Regions from separate parts of the Homo sapiens genome. Here regions 2, 3, 4, 5 and 6 are each linked to region 1. Evidence: promoter capture Hi-C in 16 types of primary human blood cells and fetal thymus (Javierre and others, 2016). All regions are on one chromosome and are shown on one strand. Each heading gives the region's core, a stretch centred on a gene start or on the middle of the fragment in contact. The rest is flanking DNA. Distances are from core to core; before and after follow the strand shown. Region 1 holds the start of ZBTB39 (zinc finger and BTB domain containing 39). Region 2 has its middle 3.6 kb from the start of SNORA105C. Region 3 has its middle 6.2 kb from the start of ATP5F1B. Region 4 overlaps PTGES3 (prostaglandin E synthase 3). Region 5 holds the start of NACA (nascent polypeptide associated complex subunit alpha). Region 6 overlaps PRIM1 (DNA primase subunit 1).

The links. Contacts are between HindIII fragments. The CHiCAGO score rates a contact against its expected background, and 5 or more counts as called.
Region 2: a contact is called between a fragment that was not itself captured here and the fragment with the promoter of ZBTB39 in region 1, in 4 of 17 cell types (naive B cells, total B cells, fetal thymus and 1 more). The highest score is 6.9, in naive B cells.
Region 3: a fragment that was not itself captured here is called in contact with the fragment with the promoter of ZBTB39 in region 1 in 3 of 17 cell types (M2 macrophages, erythroblasts and M0 macrophages); the score reaches 7.5 in M2 macrophages.
Region 4: a fragment that was not itself captured here is called in contact with the fragment with the promoter of ZBTB39 in region 1 in 4 of 17 cell types (M2 macrophages, endothelial precursors, M0 macrophages and 1 more); the score reaches 8.5 in M2 macrophages.
Region 5: a fragment that was not itself captured here is called in contact with the fragment with the promoter of ZBTB39 in region 1 in 14 of 17 cell types (erythroblasts, M1 macrophages, M0 macrophages and 11 more); the score reaches 11.8 in erythroblasts.
Region 6: a contact is called between a fragment that was not itself captured here and the fragment with the promoter of ZBTB39 in region 1, in 6 of 17 cell types (M2 macrophages, erythroblasts, M1 macrophages and 3 more). The highest score is 10.8, in M2 macrophages.

The regions. Positions count from the first base shown.
Region 1 is chr12:57,005,092-57,007,865 of GRCh38, reverse strand. ZBTB39 (zinc finger and BTB domain containing 39) reads left to right here and starts at 1,320. Exons shown (of 2, transcript NM_014830.3): 1 at 1,320-1,461. RefSeq lists silencers at 1,122-1,481, 1,502-1,651. The HindIII fragment of the contact is 1,523 bases long and covers 1,039-2,561 here.
Region 2 is chr12:56,515,046-56,517,819 of GRCh38, reverse strand. No RefSeq gene overlaps it. Among named protein-coding and RNA genes, the nearest start is that of SNORA105C, 3.6 kb to the right of the region's middle. The HindIII fragment of the contact is 2,003 bases long and covers 390-2,392 here.
Region 3 is chr12:56,650,841-56,653,614 of GRCh38, reverse strand. No RefSeq gene overlaps it. Among named protein-coding and RNA genes, the nearest start is that of ATP5F1B, 6.2 kb to the right of the region's middle. The HindIII fragment of the contact is 2,056 bases long and covers 319-2,374 here.
Region 4 is chr12:56,670,827-56,673,600 of GRCh38, reverse strand. It overlaps PTGES3 (prostaglandin E synthase 3), which reads left to right. Exons shown (of 8, transcript NM_006601.7): 2 at 536-649; 3 at 792-861; 4 at 1,754-1,852. Among named protein-coding and RNA genes, the nearest start is that of PTGES3, 16 kb to the left of the region's middle. The HindIII fragment of the contact is 1,450 bases long and covers 662-2,111 here.
Region 5 is chr12:56,723,756-56,726,529 of GRCh38, reverse strand. It overlaps NACA (nascent polypeptide associated complex subunit alpha), which reads left to right and starts at 1,231. Exons shown (of 9, transcript NM_001365896.1): 1 at 1,231-1,267; 2 at 2,007-2,078. The coding sequence starts at 2,009. RefSeq lists enhancers at 1,156-1,285, 1,376-1,425, 2,485-2,604. The HindIII fragment of the contact is 3,564 bases long and covers 1-2,774 here.
Region 6 is chr12:56,743,976-56,746,749 of GRCh38, reverse strand. PRIM1 (DNA primase subunit 1) reads left to right here. Exons shown (of 13, transcript NM_000946.3): 5 at 569-705; 6 at 2,627-2,685. Among named protein-coding and RNA genes, the nearest start is that of PRIM1, 7.0 kb to the left of the region's middle. The HindIII fragment of the contact is 6,831 bases long and covers 1-2,774 here.

The DNA.
Region 1 (2,774 bases), core at 71-2,570:
CTGCTGGCTGTGTGATATTCCACTTTAGGGAGACTCAGTCACCTTGCACAACTGTGAGAGCTGGGCCTGCCACTGAAACATTGTGTCAACCTCTAAGTGACCCTTTCACTAGATGGTAAAGTGAGATGCCTCATCCCCAAACTATAAGAACAGTTCTATGGCTGTTTTTGTATCTCCTGGCTAACAAATGTTACATGTTTGGCAGCATTTGGTATAGTGCTTGCTTTCAGTATAGTCTGCCACCAGTTAATGAGGTTGTGGAAAGGAGGACACACAATCTCCCAAATTCATCAAGAGAATGGACAATTGCTGAATGGCCAAACTGGCTTAGATCTGTTGGCAACATTCAGTGTGTCCCTTCCTTTCCACTTATCCATCAAGGAATTACTGAATCCTACCATGCGCCTGTCCTGGGAGTTTGTCCTTGGCTGCAAGCTATTTTCAGGCAGTGACTGGGATGGGATGGGAGAGAGGATGAAACTGAAGGGTCTTGGAGCCTAAGAGCTTCCTCTGTACTGAGGGAGGGAGGGCGACATGACGAAGACTTCTAATGTCTTTGGTGGTGGTGGGTGGGGCAGGCAGTGTAGGTGGTTTTCGTTTGATGACAATTCTTGGGCAGAAGCATTTGAAAAGATGATTTGGGAGAAGGGTGGGGAGGAAGAGTGATCGAGTTCTACACAGAGTTGGGGAGGGCAGGCTTCAGGAAGCAGGCCTGGGGTGCCAAAGTACAGTGAGATCCGGTGACTTTCTTCATTTGGCCACCTAGATGGAAGGAGGGACAGCAGTGGATTATCAGAAGGGTCCAGTAGTAGCGGTCTAGCCCTCAAGTGCTCCTTCATTCATTCAAGCAGGCTTAATGTATTAAGCACTTATTGTGCCAGGAAGTGTGGTAAGGGTCAGTGTGGACCTGCGGCCGTGTGCAAAGCCACAGATCCCTGCCTTCAGGAAGCCCACAGCCTAGTGGAGGAGATATATAGTAATCAAACAATCTTACAACATTTTGTAAAATGCCCATAGTAGATGTTCTGAGGAGAAGCTTTTGGAACTGTGAGCGTAGAACAGGGGAGGTGAAGAGAGTTTGGATAGGGTTTTTCACTCTTCAGGCACCAAGTCCCGCGCACAGTGGATGGGCGCTTAGAAAAAGCCAGCCTGGGGACTTGGAAGCCCCTGCACCCCTCGCGCAGGTCCTGGACCCGGCCCCGCCGTGGGGGGGCGCTGCCTCCTCCCGGGCGGCGGGGGGCGCTGCGGCCGGGCGGCGGGGGGCGCTGCCTCCTCCGGGACGGCGGGGGGCGCTGCGGGCCGGGCGGCGGGGGCGGCCCGGGCCGTCGCGGCGAGCCGCGCGGCGGATGGAGAGTCTGGCCGCGGCCGGCGGCGCCGCCTCCTCGTCGGGCCGGGCACGGCGGGCCGGGGCCTTTGTGTGAAGCGGCGGCGGCGATGGTGCTCGGGGCGCCGCAGAGCCGGGTAAGCGCGGCCAGGCCGAGGGCTGCCCCTGGCCGAAGCCCGACCTTCGGCCCGGCATTTATCTCGCTCTTGCTGGGGTCCCTCTTGCCCGCTCCCTTCGGCCGGACCCATCCTCCCCGCCCGCGCGCCGACCCCGGCCGGCCCCGCCGCCCCTCGCTTGGCCCCTTATTCAGCCCCATGCCCCCAACAGGCTCACCCGGGTGAGCCCCGCGCTGTTTGTGGAGGGACTGAGGCGCTCGTTGCCTCCAGAGGGAGCGCCCCAGCCGATGCAGCGCCCTTCCCTCCCAGATGCGACTCCGGAGGGGAGACCGCGGCGCCCGGGGATTGTTGGGGTGTCCTTGGAAGTTCCCAGCTTCCCCCTCTCCCACCCTCTCCTCTGGCTGCCCAGTGCTCCGACCCGCCCATCGTTCAGGGGTGGCCACCAGGGCCCGGGAGATGCTTGGCCGGTACCCCACAATACTTAGACGCTTCCTGGGCCCCAGAAAAAGTTGGGAGTTGTTAGAATCTGGAGAGATGGAGAAAGGGGCTGTGTTGGGCAGAGTTGTGAGACTGAACAGGGATGCAAGTAGCTCTTCTTCCTTAGTCGTGCAGGAGTCAGAAAGGGCAGAAAGTGGTAGTGAACAAGCCTCTAGGAGTCTTACCTGTATAATTAGAAGTCTTTCTTGCGGCATCAAGTAAATCTGTTAGTGCAGGGACAACAAAATATAAACCCCGAAAAGGGTGGCGAAAAAGAATACAACATATTAAAGTAATATTAAATACTACCACAGTTGTGTTCTACTTTTCTTACTGTGCATTCTGAGTGTTTTAACTTCACAGAATACAGGGACTGTGATAAAGCAATATCTGGAGGGGCTCTGGGTTATCGAAAGGCCAGAGAGCGGGTATGTAGTATAGGCAGAGAGAGATGGGGATTCAAGAACGTGAGATTTATTTGGAGATTATTGAGAGGTTGAAGACACAGCAATGACAAAGCTAAAAAACGGAACCACCTTATATGTTCCTCAGTAGCTAGTGGAGCTTTGATAGTTGTGTTCAAGCATGTGCATGGTATTTGGCATCATGAGGGAAAAGAATATGCTCAATGAATTAGGAAAGCTTGTATTTGGGAGGAAATTAATAGGAGAAAAATTTGATCCAGTGGCTCTGGTAATGAAGTATAAGATTGTGTCCAAGGGAATGCCTCTGGTTCGTCTCTAGGCACCAGCTTAAAACCAAGCTATCAGATTGTCATCAGTCGTTTTGGTTTTTGTCATAACTCTTTGAGTATATACAGGGGGAGATGTCATTGCCTTGTCATAATGGAGGAACTC
Region 2 (2,774 bases), core at 142-2,641, 490 kb after region 1:
CTTGAGGTGAGGAGTTCGAGACCAGCCTAGTCAACATAGTGAAACCCTGTCTCTACTAAAAATACAAAAATTAGCCAGGCGTGGTGGCACACGCCTGTAATCCCAGCTACTTGGGAGACTGAGGCAGGAGAATCGCTTGAACCTGGGAGGCAGAGGTTGCAGTGAGCTGAGATCATGCCACTGCACTCCAGCCTGGGCAACAGAGTGAGACTCTGTCTCAAAAAAAAAAAAAGCTGAGTTTATTTCCTGGTAAAAAAGATGAGATTATGTCTTAGGGAAAAGTAAAAAACAAAACAAAACAAACAAACAAACAAAAACAGTTTATTGAACATACCAGTTTCCTTAGGCAAGAAATGTTAATGAGCTACATCAAACAATAAAGCAAAGCTTAGCCGTGACCCCTTCTGATGTAGGATGGAATGACAAAATTGGTCTAAAACAAAAAATTGGAAAAGTTTGTCTTTTTACCTCTTTGACTTACCTTACTGGCAAACAAGGAAAAAGACAGCTCTGAAGAATTATTTCTTTCACACCTGGATATCAGTGCTAACAGGCCTCTTCTCCTATAGCAACAGATATTCCTGGACAAACATTGCTTCAGAGAATATTCTAATAAAATTGTCAAATGGACTTTTCCTTTGCCGGACGCTGAAGGAATACAGGAACCAAATCATTTAGAATCACTGGGCTAGAAAATTAGCATATTGTAGAAAGAAAAGACTAGAATGAATTCTATGTAACCCAGAATATACTACATTGATTTTATGGTGGTATTCATTGTATTCTCTTTTTATTTTTATTTTATCACCTACCAGAAAGATATATTCTCTAAATGTGTGTTTCCTTCACACCTGAGGCATTAGTTTTGCTTGGCCTTGGCCTCATCTATCCCTAAAATAAACAACTCAGATGATCCCAATAGGGCCCACAACTGATTCAACAATTAGGCTGAATCAAATGAAACTGCTGTCTCCATAGGTCAAATCTTAATCTTTTCATATCATTGAATACTAGCAATTTCATATGGTTAAATCTAAATATTGCAAGAAGTATGAGACTGCGGGGATGATAATGAGCCAAAACAGTAATTAATTGGATAGTTCCTTCCCCTTGTCCTCTCTCATTTTCAGATTAAAAAAACAAATCCCAGAGAGGCAAGCTCACTTACACAAGGTCATAGGGGTCAAATAGTAGCATAAGTGACACCAGAATCCAGATTTCTTCTTCTTCTTTTGTTTTTTTTTTTTTCTTTTTTTGAGATGGAGTCTCACTCTGTTGCCCAGGCTGGAGTGCAATGGTGTGATCTCAGCTCACTGCAACCTCCGCCTCCCGGGTTCAAGCAATTCCCCTGCCTCAGCCTCTGGAGCAGCTGGGATTACAGGCACATGTCACCATGCCTGGCTAATTTTTGTGTTTTTAGTAGAGACGGGGTTTCACCATGTTGGCCAGGCTGGTCTCAAACTCCTAACCTCAGGTGATCTGCCCTCCTCGGCCTCCCAAAGTGTTGGGATTATAGCTGTGAGCCACTGCTCCTGGCCAGAATTCAGATTTCTTGACTCAATTCTATCCTTTCTATTTGCCCGTAAAATTAAAAATTCCAGTAAATATGTACTTTGGGGTCAGAAATAATAAAGGAATAATCCTAGGAATCCAGAAGTGAAAGATTCAACTATTTTCCTCAAGCCAGCCCCTTACCTCAAGTAGTAGTCATATTCAATATTCTGACTTATTCTTAACTTACACACTGGGTAATATTTCTAGGGATAAACTTACAACACAAACAGCAAGAGGTTTGTTGAAAACCACATTTGCTGAGAAGCACTCCTAATGAAGATTCTACCTGAGTTTTGATTCACTATATATTTAGAAGATAATTTGCTTAAAATCTGATTTCCAGATAATTAGGACCATATCCTAAAACTCTCAGGTGAAACATAAGATTTAAATGTAAGGGCTGGGCACAGTGGCTCACACCTGTAATCCCAGCACTTTGGGAGGCAGAGGCAGGCAGATCACTTGAGGTCAGAAGTTCAAGACCAGCCTGGCCAACATGGTGAAACCCTATCTCTACTAAAAATACAAAAAATTAGCCAGGCGTGGTGGTGTGGCCCTGTAGTCCCAGCTACTCGGGAGTCTGCTGCAGGAGAATCACTTGAACCCAGAGGCAGAGGTTGCAGTGAGCCGAGATTGCGCTACTGCACTCTAGCCTGGGCAACAGAGGGAGACTCTGTCTCAAAAAAAAGAGAGAGAGAGAGAGAGATTTGAATGTAAGAAATAATTGTTTTTCTATTTTTCCTGTTCATATGGTGCTGAAAAAGTAATTGTTAAAATATAAATATACATTAGTTATAAGGTCACTAGTCATGAGCAGCCTTTACCAGAAGCATAAGCTTGATGAGGACAGAGACCATGACTGTTTTGTACACCATTATATCCTTAGCATTCAGGAGGACCTGGCTAATTTAAAATGTTAAAATATTTGTTAAATGAATAAATGGACTGTCTCAGAACACAAAATTTACATTTGAAAAAAATGTTACTAATTAAAAATGGTAAGACTGGGCGCAGTGGCTCACACCTGTAATCCCAGCACTTTGGGAGGCTGAGGTGGGTGGATCATGAGGTCAGGATATCGAGACCATCCTGGCTAACACGGTGAAACCCCGTCTCTACTAAAAATACAAAAAAAATGAGCCGGGCGTGGTGGTGGGCACCTGTAGTCCCAGCTACTCGGGAGGCTGAGGCAGGAGAATAGTGGGAACCCAGAAGGCAGA
Region 3 (2,774 bases), core at 97-2,596, 350 kb after region 1:
AGGAAATTATAAGAGTATTGATTGGGGAAGTGATAAATGTACATGAAATCTTCACAATTTCTGTTCAGAGATTGCAGTAAAAACAGGCGTAAGAAATTATAAAAGTATTAATTTGGGGAACTAATAAATGTCCATGAAATCTTCACAATTTATGTTCTGCTGTGGCTTCAGCCGGTCCCTCCGTTTGGGGTCCCTGACTTCCCGCAACAATAGGGTTTCCATTTTTATGAGAATCTAATGCCATCACTGATCTGACAGGAGGCAGAATTCAGGTGGTAACGTGAGCAGTGGGGAGAAGCTGTAAATACAGATGAAGCTTTGGTCACTCGACCACAACTCTCCTCCTGCTGTGTGGCCTGGTTCCTAACAGGCCATGGACGGGTACTGGTCTGTGGCCCAGGCACTGGGGAACCCTGCATTATATGTATATGAAACAGAAAGTGAGTGGAATGTATGCAAAAAGTTTTTTCAATGGTCATTTTTGGGAAGGACAGTGGAAGTTTTGGAAGTAATGGTGAAAGAACTCATCCTGTACACCTAGAATATGTTCATATGTTACTTGTGTAATAAATAGTGCTTCCAAATTGTGACCTAAGAAAGGAATATTGGATTTCTGAAAGAGAATATTTCAACTTGGGAATGGCTGTGGAAGTAGGCTGCTTATGTGAAATGGGAATGTGAAAAACTAATTGGAATTGAAGTGGTTGAGGATCTCTGAAGCCAGGGCATTGAATGGGTTCTTTTCGTGGAATTTGAAATAATCCGGGATGATTGTCAAGAAATGTAGTAGAGACCAAAAAAACACATTCCACCAATTACCAGAGTACTGGAAGGATGTGGGGGTATGACCAATGTGGATAGCAGTAATGAAAGGATTTGGTGGAAAATGTAATTTTCACTTCAAGATGAATTTTAAATTACAGAGCACAGTCATTTGGAATTAACTTCAGATAAGAAACCAGATTGGGTGGGTCTGTGTGGTTCCTATTCCCCTGTGAAAAATAACTTGTACTTTTTTTTTTTTTTTCCATTCAGGTTCCATTTATTTTTGACATTTTTACATAACCATCCTTGCAGGGGTAACTCCTGCATCACTCTAGAACTTCAGGTTCCGTCCCTCTCCCTCTCCCTCTCCCCCTCCCCTCCCCCTCCCCTCCCCCTCCCCCTCCCCCTCCCCTTCCCTCTCTCCATGGTCTCCCTCTGAAGCCGAGCCGAGGTTGGACTGCACTGCCGCCATCTCGGCTCACTGCAACCTCCCTGCCCGACTCTCCTGCCTCAGCCTGCCGATCGCCCGGGACTGCAGGCGCGTGCCGCCACGCCTGACTGGTCTTTGCTGGAGTGCAGTGGCATGATCTGGGCTCGCTACAGCCTCCACCTCCCAGCCTCCTGCCCTGGCCTCCCAAAGTGCCGAGATTGCAGCCTCTGCCCGGCTGCCACCCCATCTGGGAAGCGAGGAGCGTCTCTGCCTGGCCGCCCATCATCTGGGATGCGAGGAGCCCCTCTGCCCTGCCGCCCAGCCTGGGAAGTGAGGAGCGCCTCTTCCCGGCCGCCATCCCATCTGGGAAGTGACGAGCGTCTCTGCCTGGCCGCCCATCGTCTGAGATGTGGGGAGCGCCTCTGCCCCGCCGCCCCGTCTGGGATGTGAGGAGCGCCTCCGCCCGGCCACGACCCCGTCTGGGAACTGAGGAGTGTCTCTGCCTGACCGCCACCCCGTCTGGGAGGTGAGGAGCGTCTCTGCCCGGCCGCCCCGTCTAAGAAGTGAGGAGCCCCTCCGCCCGGCAGCTGCCCCGTCTGGGAAATGAGGAGCGTCTCCACCTGGCAGCCGCCCCGTCTGGGAGGGAGGTGGGGGGCAGCCCCCGCCCAGCCAGCCGCCCCGTCCGGGAGGGAGGTGGGGGGCAGCCCCCGCCCGGCCAGCCACCCCGACTTGTACTTTATATAAAATATCACTTGGACAATCTGGGTCTCAATCAAGAAATACGTAGGAAAGGCCGGCCGCCGTGGCTCACGCCTGTAATCCCAGCACTTTGGGAGGCCGACATGGGCGGATCACGAGGTCAGGAGATCGAGACCATCCTGGCTAACACAGTGAAACCCTGTCTCTACTAAAAAAAATACAAAAAAATTAGCCGGGCGTGGTGGCGGGTGCCTGTAGTCCCAGCGACTCGGGAGGCTGAGGCAGGAGAATGGCGTGAACCCGGAGGCGGAGCTTGCAGTGAGCTGAGATCGTGCCACTGCACTCCAGCCCGGGCAACATAGCAAGACTCCATCTCAAAAAAAAATATGTAGGACAAAAACATGTTACAACTCTAAAATAGATTACATTATTTATTCAGAATGCTGGTTAAGGCATATCTCAATCTGAGCTAATCAAGCTTATTCTATTTTAGACATTATTACTTATATTAATAAATTTAACTGATTTCAGAGGAGAGGGAGAGGAGGTTGTTAAAGGCCAACATTGATAGCAACAGAGTGAGAAAAATTAAGAGTTCACAAACTTCAGCTTAATGGTCTCATGGAGAAATAGCTCTTTTTTACTTTTAACTTTTTTTTTTTTGAGATGGAGTCTCCCTCTGTCGCCCAGGCTGGAGTGCAGTGGCGTGATCTTGGCTCACAGCAAGCTCCGCCTCCAGGGTTCACGCCATTCTCCTGCCTCAGCCTCCCGAGTAGCTGGGATTACAGGCGCCCACCACCACACCTGGCTAATTTTTTGTATTTTTAGTAGAGACGGGGTTTCACCGCGTAAGCCAGGATGGTCTCAATCTCCTGACCTC
Region 4 (2,774 bases), core at 137-2,636, 330 kb after region 1:
GCTGGTCTCGAACTCCTGAGCTTAGGTGATCCACCCACCTCAGCCTCCCAAAGTGCTGGGATTACAGGCGTGAGCCACCGTACCCTGCTTTTTTTTTTTTTTTTTTTTTTTTTTTCCGTATTTGTATTTGTAGTAGAGTCGGGGTTTCGCTGTGCTGGCCAGGCTGGTCTCTAGCTCTCCTGGCCTCAAGTGACCCACCTGCCTTGGCCTCCCAAAGTGCTGGGATTACAGGTGTGAGCCACTGCACCCAGCCAAGTAACATAATTTTTGATAGGACTAGATAAACGGCTAACTCTACTAAGCATTGTTTGGTTTTTAAATCTTTCCTATTATGAAATTGGAATCATTCTGAAACTAAATCTTGTTAGACCCATAGGTTTTAACTTGGAATGTAGCTGTTAGGGTAAAAATGTAGTTTTTGTTTAAAATTGTAACAAACTGCCCTGAAATAATGCTATAATGGTGTCGAAGGTTAGTATGTGAATGTTTAGTTAATGAATTCCAGCTTGACTTTCCCTACTTTATCCTTTTGTAGGCAGCCTGCTTCTGCAAAGTGGTACGATCGAAGGGACTATGTCTTCATTGAATTTTGTGTTGAAGACAGTAAGGATGTTAATGTAAATTTTGAAAAATCCAAACTTACATTCAGGTAAGTTAAGCTTTTTATCCAATGATGTAAAATAGTCATTCACACAACTGAATAACTTTGACTGGCTTGTCTTTTCATTGAAGTTATTATTAATCTTTGTCTCTTTGAAGAGGCTTAATTCTTTCTTTATTATTTTATACAGTTGTCTCGGAGGAAGTGATAATTTTAAGCATTTAAATGAAATTGATCTTTTTCACTGTATTGATCCAAATGTAAGTAGTCTTTATGCTTTAATCCAAATTTTAGTTGTGAGGAAACAGACATACCAAGTATTCTTTTTAGCAATGAGCATTAGTTCTGTTTTTCTTAACAGTGAGGCAAACTATGTATATTTACATTTTGTAGAATATTTCCTCCAAAATTGGTTTCTGCATACTTTTTGTTTTTGCTATCACTGTTTGGGCTTAGAGTAGTATCCTTGAGGCTCGTCTCATCTTTTTTATTTGTTTTGTTTTTTTGTTTGTTTGGTTTTGTTCTTTGAGACTGCTGCAGTACAATGGAGCGATCCCGGCTCACTGCAACCTCTGCCTCGTAGGTTCCAGGGATTCTCCTGCCTCAGCCTCTGGAGCAGCTGGGATTACAGGCACATGCCACCATGCCTGGCTAATTTTTGTGTTTTTAGTAAAGACCATGTTGGTCAGGCTGGTCTCAAACTCCTGACCTCAGGTGTTCCACCTGCCTCGGCCTCCCAAAGTGCTGGGATTACAGGCATGAGCCACTGCGCCCGGCCAAGGCTTCCCTTATCTAAGAATAGAATCTTTAAACCATTCTGTGGTTATATCATTTTTAGTTAAAGTTTTTAAGGTTTTATTCTGTTTATCGTGTGCAGGAAAGAAAAAAATGGTACCAGGTTAAACTTTAAACTTTATTGTTGTGCAGATTATTTCAGTAGGAAATAGAAGGGAAAAAAAAATTTTTTTTTAAATGAAACTTAAAGGGGGTTGGGGCAGTTGGATAGTTTGAAGTTTTTAGTAGTCAAGGGCATGTTTCAGAGTCCAGAGAAAATTTAGGTAAAGAAATGAGAAAGGTGAGAAATGACAAGCTATTTTCTATCATGTAGTGATGCTGGAAAGATAAATGGTATGATGGTCCTTTTGTTTTTAGGATTCCAAGCATAAAAGAACGGACAGATCAATTTTATGTTGTTTACGAAAAGGAGAATCTGGCCAGTCATGGCCAAGGTTAACAAAAGAAAGGGCAAAGGTAGGTTTCATTTTCCTTTTTTGAAAAGTTTGATATTTTTATTTTAGGTAATAAAAGATGTACTTATTTGATGTAAGGAATATGGCTGTGTTTTTGTTTCACAGCTAAGTATAAAGCCTCATGTTCATGTTTTTTGTCTACTCAGTTTTAATACGAAGTGTGATCAGAATATCAGTTATTAACTGGTGTAGAATCTTTTGTACTTAAGAGACAGACTTTGCATAAATTACTCAGCTATCACATGGGAGGGGACAAAGCTTGGTGAAAAAATAATCAACTGAAAATAGTTCTTACTAGTAAATTTGTTTTCAAAAGGTATGTTTAACAATTTTCAGTGTTTTTTTTCCCCCAAAACAGGGTCTCTCTTTGTCACCCAGGCTGGAGTGCAGTGGCACGATCTTGGCTCACTGCAGCCTCAGTTTCCCAGGCTCCAAGTGATCCTCCCTCCTCAGTCCCCCAAGTAGCTGGGACTGTAGGGGCATGCCACAACACCTGGCTAATTTTTGTATTTTTTGTAGAAAGGGGTATCACAGTGTTGCCCAGCTTGGTCTTGAACTTCTGGGCTCAAGCAGTCTCCCCACCTCAGCCTCCCAAAGTGCTGGGACTACAGGCATGAGCCACGACACCAGCCTAGTCTTTTTTTTTAGGTAGTCTCATGCCACTCATGCCAGAGTGCACTGGTGTGAACATGGCTCACTGTAGCCTCCACCTGGGCTTAAGCGATCCTCCCACCCACCTCACCTCTCCAAATAGCTAGGATTGTAGGAATGTGCCACCACGCCCAGGAAATTTGTTTTTTTGTTTTTTCCCCAGATACAGGATCCACTATTGCTCAGGCTGTCTCGAACTCCTGAAGGATTACACAACTAGTCTTTCCACCTTGGCCACCCAAAGTGTTGGGGTTACAGGTGTGAGCCACCTC
Region 5 (2,774 bases), core at 177-2,676, 280 kb after region 1:
CGAGGCAGGCGGATTACCTGAGGTCAGGAGTTCAAGACCAGCCTGGCCAACATGGTGAAACCCGTCTCTACTAAAAATAAAAAATTAGCCGGGGGTGGTGGCACACACCTGTAATCCCAGCTACTCGGGAGGCTGAGGCGGGACAACTGCTTGAGCCCTGGAGGCGGAGATTGCAGTGAGCCGAGATCGTGCCACTGCACTCTAGCCTGGCCGACAGAGCGACTCAAAAAAAAAAAAAAAAAAATCCAAGAAGTGCCCAAAATAGCAAGCAAAGGAATTGTATATGTGCCTATGTTCTTTTTTTCTGGGAAGGAGAATCTGCAGCTTTATAATTTCAACATCGGCTAAATTGTCGTGAACCTAAAACAATCAAAAGGGCCGGAATCTATTTAAAGAGTTTATTCAAGGGCAGTGTGAGGATGGACCAACCAGAAAACCTCCAAAGAATGGAGTCAGCCTTCAGAAGTAGAGAAGTTACGATTTCATTTATTTAGGGAGACAGAGGAGTTTTTAGCTGGATTACGTTATCCATACAAGGTTGGAACATAATTACAGAATTTGGTTACAAGAAGTGTTTTTTTTGGGGGGGGGGCGGGGGTACAGCTAACATTGTTTTACGAAGAGTTTAACACGCATGAGTTGCTGTCATCTGGTGACATCGTTTGAGTCTCTCTAGTCATTGAACAGAACAAGAAAAATCGAATTAAATTTATAATCTGAACTGAAGTTATATGTGACCCATCACATCTCTCAAGTTTTAAAATGGGTTTTTTTGTTGTTGTTGATGGGGGGGGAGAGGGTCCAGCAGCTTTTAAATGTTTTCACATCGTGTGTTCCAAAAATAACTGGTTAGCCTAAGTCACTTCCACCCTCCAATGTTGTGAATGCAGTCTCTAGCATTCGCTATTTAATGTCTTCTTCCTGCACTATTTGAGAAATCGCGAGGTCGACTTAATACCGCAGTCGCCACTTCGCGGACCGGAGGGCGGAGTCTGCTTAGTTCTGAGGACTGCGTGGGTCCGCGCAGAGAGCTCCTGCTAGGCCTGCGCGTCCCGTTCTAAATTCTTACCCTTTAGTCCTTGTCACCACCCCCGCCGTGGGAACGGCCTGACAGTCACTCGTCAAAGGAAGTGGCTGCCGGCAGCTCTTGACCCGGAATCGGATCCTAGTCCCACCCCCTCCGCTCCAGGCTTCCTTCTGCAACAGGCGTGGGTCACGCTCTCGCTCGGTCTTTCTGCCGCCATCTTGGTTCCGCGTTCCCTGCACAGTAAGTACTTTCTGTGCCGCTACTGTCTATCCGCAGCCATCCGCCTTTCTTTCGGGCTAAGCCGCCCCGGGGACTGAGAGTTAAGGAGAGTTGGAGGCTTTACTGGGCCACAGGGTTCCTACTCGCCCCTGGGCCTCCGGACAAAATGGGGTCTGCGGTTGGTGTCCTGGCAAAAGCAGGGTAGAAGGGCTGCGGGGCGGGCCCAGAATCCGAGCCTGCAGAGATGGGAGCAGTTGCAGTGTTGAGGGCGGAAGAGGAGTGCGTCTTGTTTTGGGAACTGCTTCACAGGATCCAGAAAAGGGTAAGGGGTCACAGCCTTAGAACCTGTAACACCGTTCTCCCTGTGACAAGCAAGTGTTGGACTTAAAACACCGTCTTTCCCCTCCTGGTACCCCAAAGTCGGCAAACGTAGTCCAGGAGGCCCCAGCCCAGCCAGTGTGAGTATTAGGAGTGGAGGGGGTTCACAGTAGCGTCTGAAGTCTCCCATGATCGAGAGCCAGCCCGGGATCCTCTCCCTCGGGTTGAGAATGCAGTGGGAATTGCTGGCCTTGATAGAGGCGTGAGGGTCACATCATATTTACCTCTTATTCCCAGGTGCTTTGGGGAAGGTTGTCACCAAACACCCTCACGATTTTTTTCTAACAGCCCTCCTCGGAGTTTTTAAGAATACTTATCTCCGGGTTGGGCAAGTGAATGTATCCCAATCAATTTAGGCCTCCTTTTTATTCCCTTCCTTCAGAAATGCCCGGCGAAGCCACAGAAACCGTCCCTGCTACAGAGCAGGAGTTGCCGCAGCCCCAGGCTGAGACAGGTAGGTTTCCCTACCCTCCTTGCCATTAATTAAAATTAACCCTAAAGCCATTTGGTGGGCAAAATGACCAAGGGGAAATACACTTTTTAGGAGGATGGGGTTGCAGCTTTACCAAGGAGGATAGACCGTAAAATTACTATCCTGGAGATACTTCTTTAGGGATTTGGAGTAAAAATAATATTTTTAAGATTCGTGGACGTTAAAAGTACCCTAGCTTGCTTTCTATGTTATGCCTGTCGCCTCAAAAGAAGCTCTCCTGTGGAACCCCCACCTCACATAGGAAAACTCAGCAGGGAATGGGCTCAGTGATTCTTACCTATTGGAACTAGATGACACAGGCCAAGGAGCCCGGAGCATTTGTGAAACTCCAGCCAGCAAGTTGCATCAAGGTTTTAGTTAGCAGAGCTTGGCATTGTGCCTTTATCACATGTCTGGATGAGATGTGTGCTGGTGGTAAATGTGTCCTACTGGGCCCCAGAGTCGTCCTAGGTCGGATAACTTGTTTATGGGTTGGTGGTGCTGAGATACTTCTAGTGTGCTGGAATAGTTCCTGCATCATTGTGTGAAACCCAGGATTGAAATAAATCCTTTTATCCTCAGCGTCGAAATTAACGACTGTGAAGGCTAATTTTAAATTCTGGTTAAAACATATCTCTGTAGAAAACTTAGGAGGAGGTAATGAAAAGTTCTTAAAAT
Region 6 (2,774 bases), core at 275-2,774, 260 kb after region 1:
GTGTAAGAATCGGTTTTCCTCTGACTACTATTAACTATTAGTCTCTGTATTTTGTGATCAAATCTCATTAATTTGTGTGTGTGTGTGTGTGTGTGTGTGTGTGTGTGTGTGTGTGTGTGTGTGACGAGTCTCACTCTGTCAGCCAGGCTGGAGTGCAGTGGTACAATGTCGGCTCACTGCAACCTCTGCCTCCTGGGTTCAAGTGATTCTCCTGCCTCAGCCTCCTGAGTAGCTGGGACTACAGGCGCACGCCACCACGCCCAGTTAATTTTTGTATTTTTAGTAGAGGCAGCGTTTCACCATGTTGGTCAGGCTGGTCTCGAACTCCTGACCTCGTGATCTGCCCACCTCGGCCTCCCAGAGTGCTGGGATTACAGGCGTGAGCTACCACACCTGGCCTAATAAAATAGTTTTTTAAAAAAGAAAGAAATTCCCAGCAGAGAGACCAGGATGGGTAAAGAGATGAAGCAAGAACATGGGGAGCACAGGAAACAACAAGTAATTTAATATACATTAATTAAGGAGTTTATAGATTTGTTTTAAAACCTATTATTTCTCTCTTCCTCAGAGGACTTTGGATTTAAGCATCGTCTCTGGGTATATTCTGGAAGGAGAGGTGTTCATTGTTGGGTCTGTGATGAATCAGTTAGAAAACTGTCTTCTGCAGTACGTTCTGGGATAGTTGAGTATTTGAGCCTTGTAAAGGTAAGATCCTCTTAATTCTAATTTGCATTGCTTTAGTTTCTAGATGTTACCAAGCCTGATATGTTTACTGTCAAAGAAAATGAAACTATCTTTTTTTTTTTTTTTTGAGATGGACTCTCACTCTGTTGCCCAGGCTGGACTGCAATGGCATGATCTTGGCTCACTGCAAGCTCTGCTTCCTGGGTCCAAGCAATTCTCCTGCCTCAGCCTCCCGAGTAGCTGGGACTACAGGCTCCTGCCACTGTGCCCAGCTAAATTTTGTATTTTTAGTAAAGACTGGGTTTCGCCATGTTGGCCAGGCTGGCCTAGAACTCCTAGCCTCAGGTGATTCACCCACCTCAGCCTCCCAAAGTGCTGGGATTACAGACATGAGCCACCACACTGGCCTAAAACTTATCTTTAATGGCATTCACATTGCAGAGTAAATGATCTTACCAATAGATCATTTAAAGTCATAGTAGCTACATGTTTTAAGATATTTCATTTTATTTTGCTATAAATATCTTGCTTTGTGGCATATGTAAAATAATAGATAAAATAGATTTATTATATATAAAATAATAGAACATGTTAAAGTTTGGTTTTGGTTTTGGTTTGTTTTTTTGGTTTTTTTTGTTTTGTTTTGTTTTGTTTTGAGACACGGTCTCACCCTGTCACCCAGGCTGGAGTACGGTAACGTGACCACAGCTCACTGCAGCCTTGACCTCCTGGTCTCAAGTGACCCTTCTACCTCAGCCTCCTGAGTAGCTGGGACTAAAGGCATGCGCCACCACGCCCAGCCAATTTTTTAATTTTTGCAGAAACAAGGTCTCACTATATTGCCCAGGGTGTTCTTGAACTCCTAAACTCAAACTATCCTCCCACTTCAGGCTCCCAAAATGCTGAGATTACAGGTGTGAGCCACTACATCCAGCCTACAAATTTTTTTTTTTTTTTTTGAGACGGAGTCTTGCTCTGTTACCCAGGCTGGAGTGCAGTGGCGCTATCTTGGCTCACCACAACCTCCGCGTCCCGGGTTCAAGCAATTCTCCTGTCTCAGCCTCCCAAGTAGCTGGGATTACAGGCACTTGCCACCACACCCGGCTAATTTTTGTATTTAGCCAGGCGTGTTGGCAGGTGGAAACAGGGTTTCATCATATTGGTCAGGCTGGTCTCGAACTCCTGACCTCAGGTGATCCGCCCGCCTCAGCCTCTCAAAGTGCTGGGATTACAAGTGTGAGCCACTGCGTCCAGCCCTAGAAATGTTTTAATTATAATTATGCATCACTTAACAATAAGGATACATCCTGAGAAATACATCACTTTGCAAAAGTCATGGAGTATACTTACACAGACCCAGATGGTATAGCCTACTATACATCTAGGCTATATGGTATAACCTATTGCTCCTAGGCTACAACCTGTACAGCATGTTACTGTACTCAATACTGTAGGCAATTGTAACACAATGATAGGTACTGATGTAGCTAAACATACCTAAACATAGAAAAGTCACAGTAAAAATACAGTATTGCAATCTTATGGGACCCACCATCTTTTTCTTTTTTTTTTGAGATGGAGTCTCGCTCTTGTCACCCTGGCTAGAGTGCAATGATGCGATCTCGGCTCACTGCAACCTCTGCCTCCCGAGTTCAAGCGACTCTCCTGCCTCAGCCTCCCGAGTAGCTAGGATTACAGGCATGCGCCACCATGCCCAGCTAATTTTTTGTATTTTTAATAGAGATGGGATTCAGGCTGGTCTTGAACTCTTGACCTCAGGTGATCCACCCACCTCAGCCTCCCAAAATGCTGGGATTACAGGTGTGAGCCACCGTGCCCACCATCTTATATGCAGTCCATCATGACTAAAATGTCGTTATGCTGCACATGACTGTATTTATATTGTATACCTGAAGTTCTTTTTTAATGATTTATTTTTCAGGGTGGTCAAGACGTTAAAAAGAAAGTTCACCTAAGTGAAAAAATTCACCCTTTTATCAGGTCTGTTGGAAAAGTCTCCAAGCACTTTAAGGTGTCTGATTTACCGGCATGTGCCTTTAGAGTTACCTTGCTATCAATTTTCACTGCTG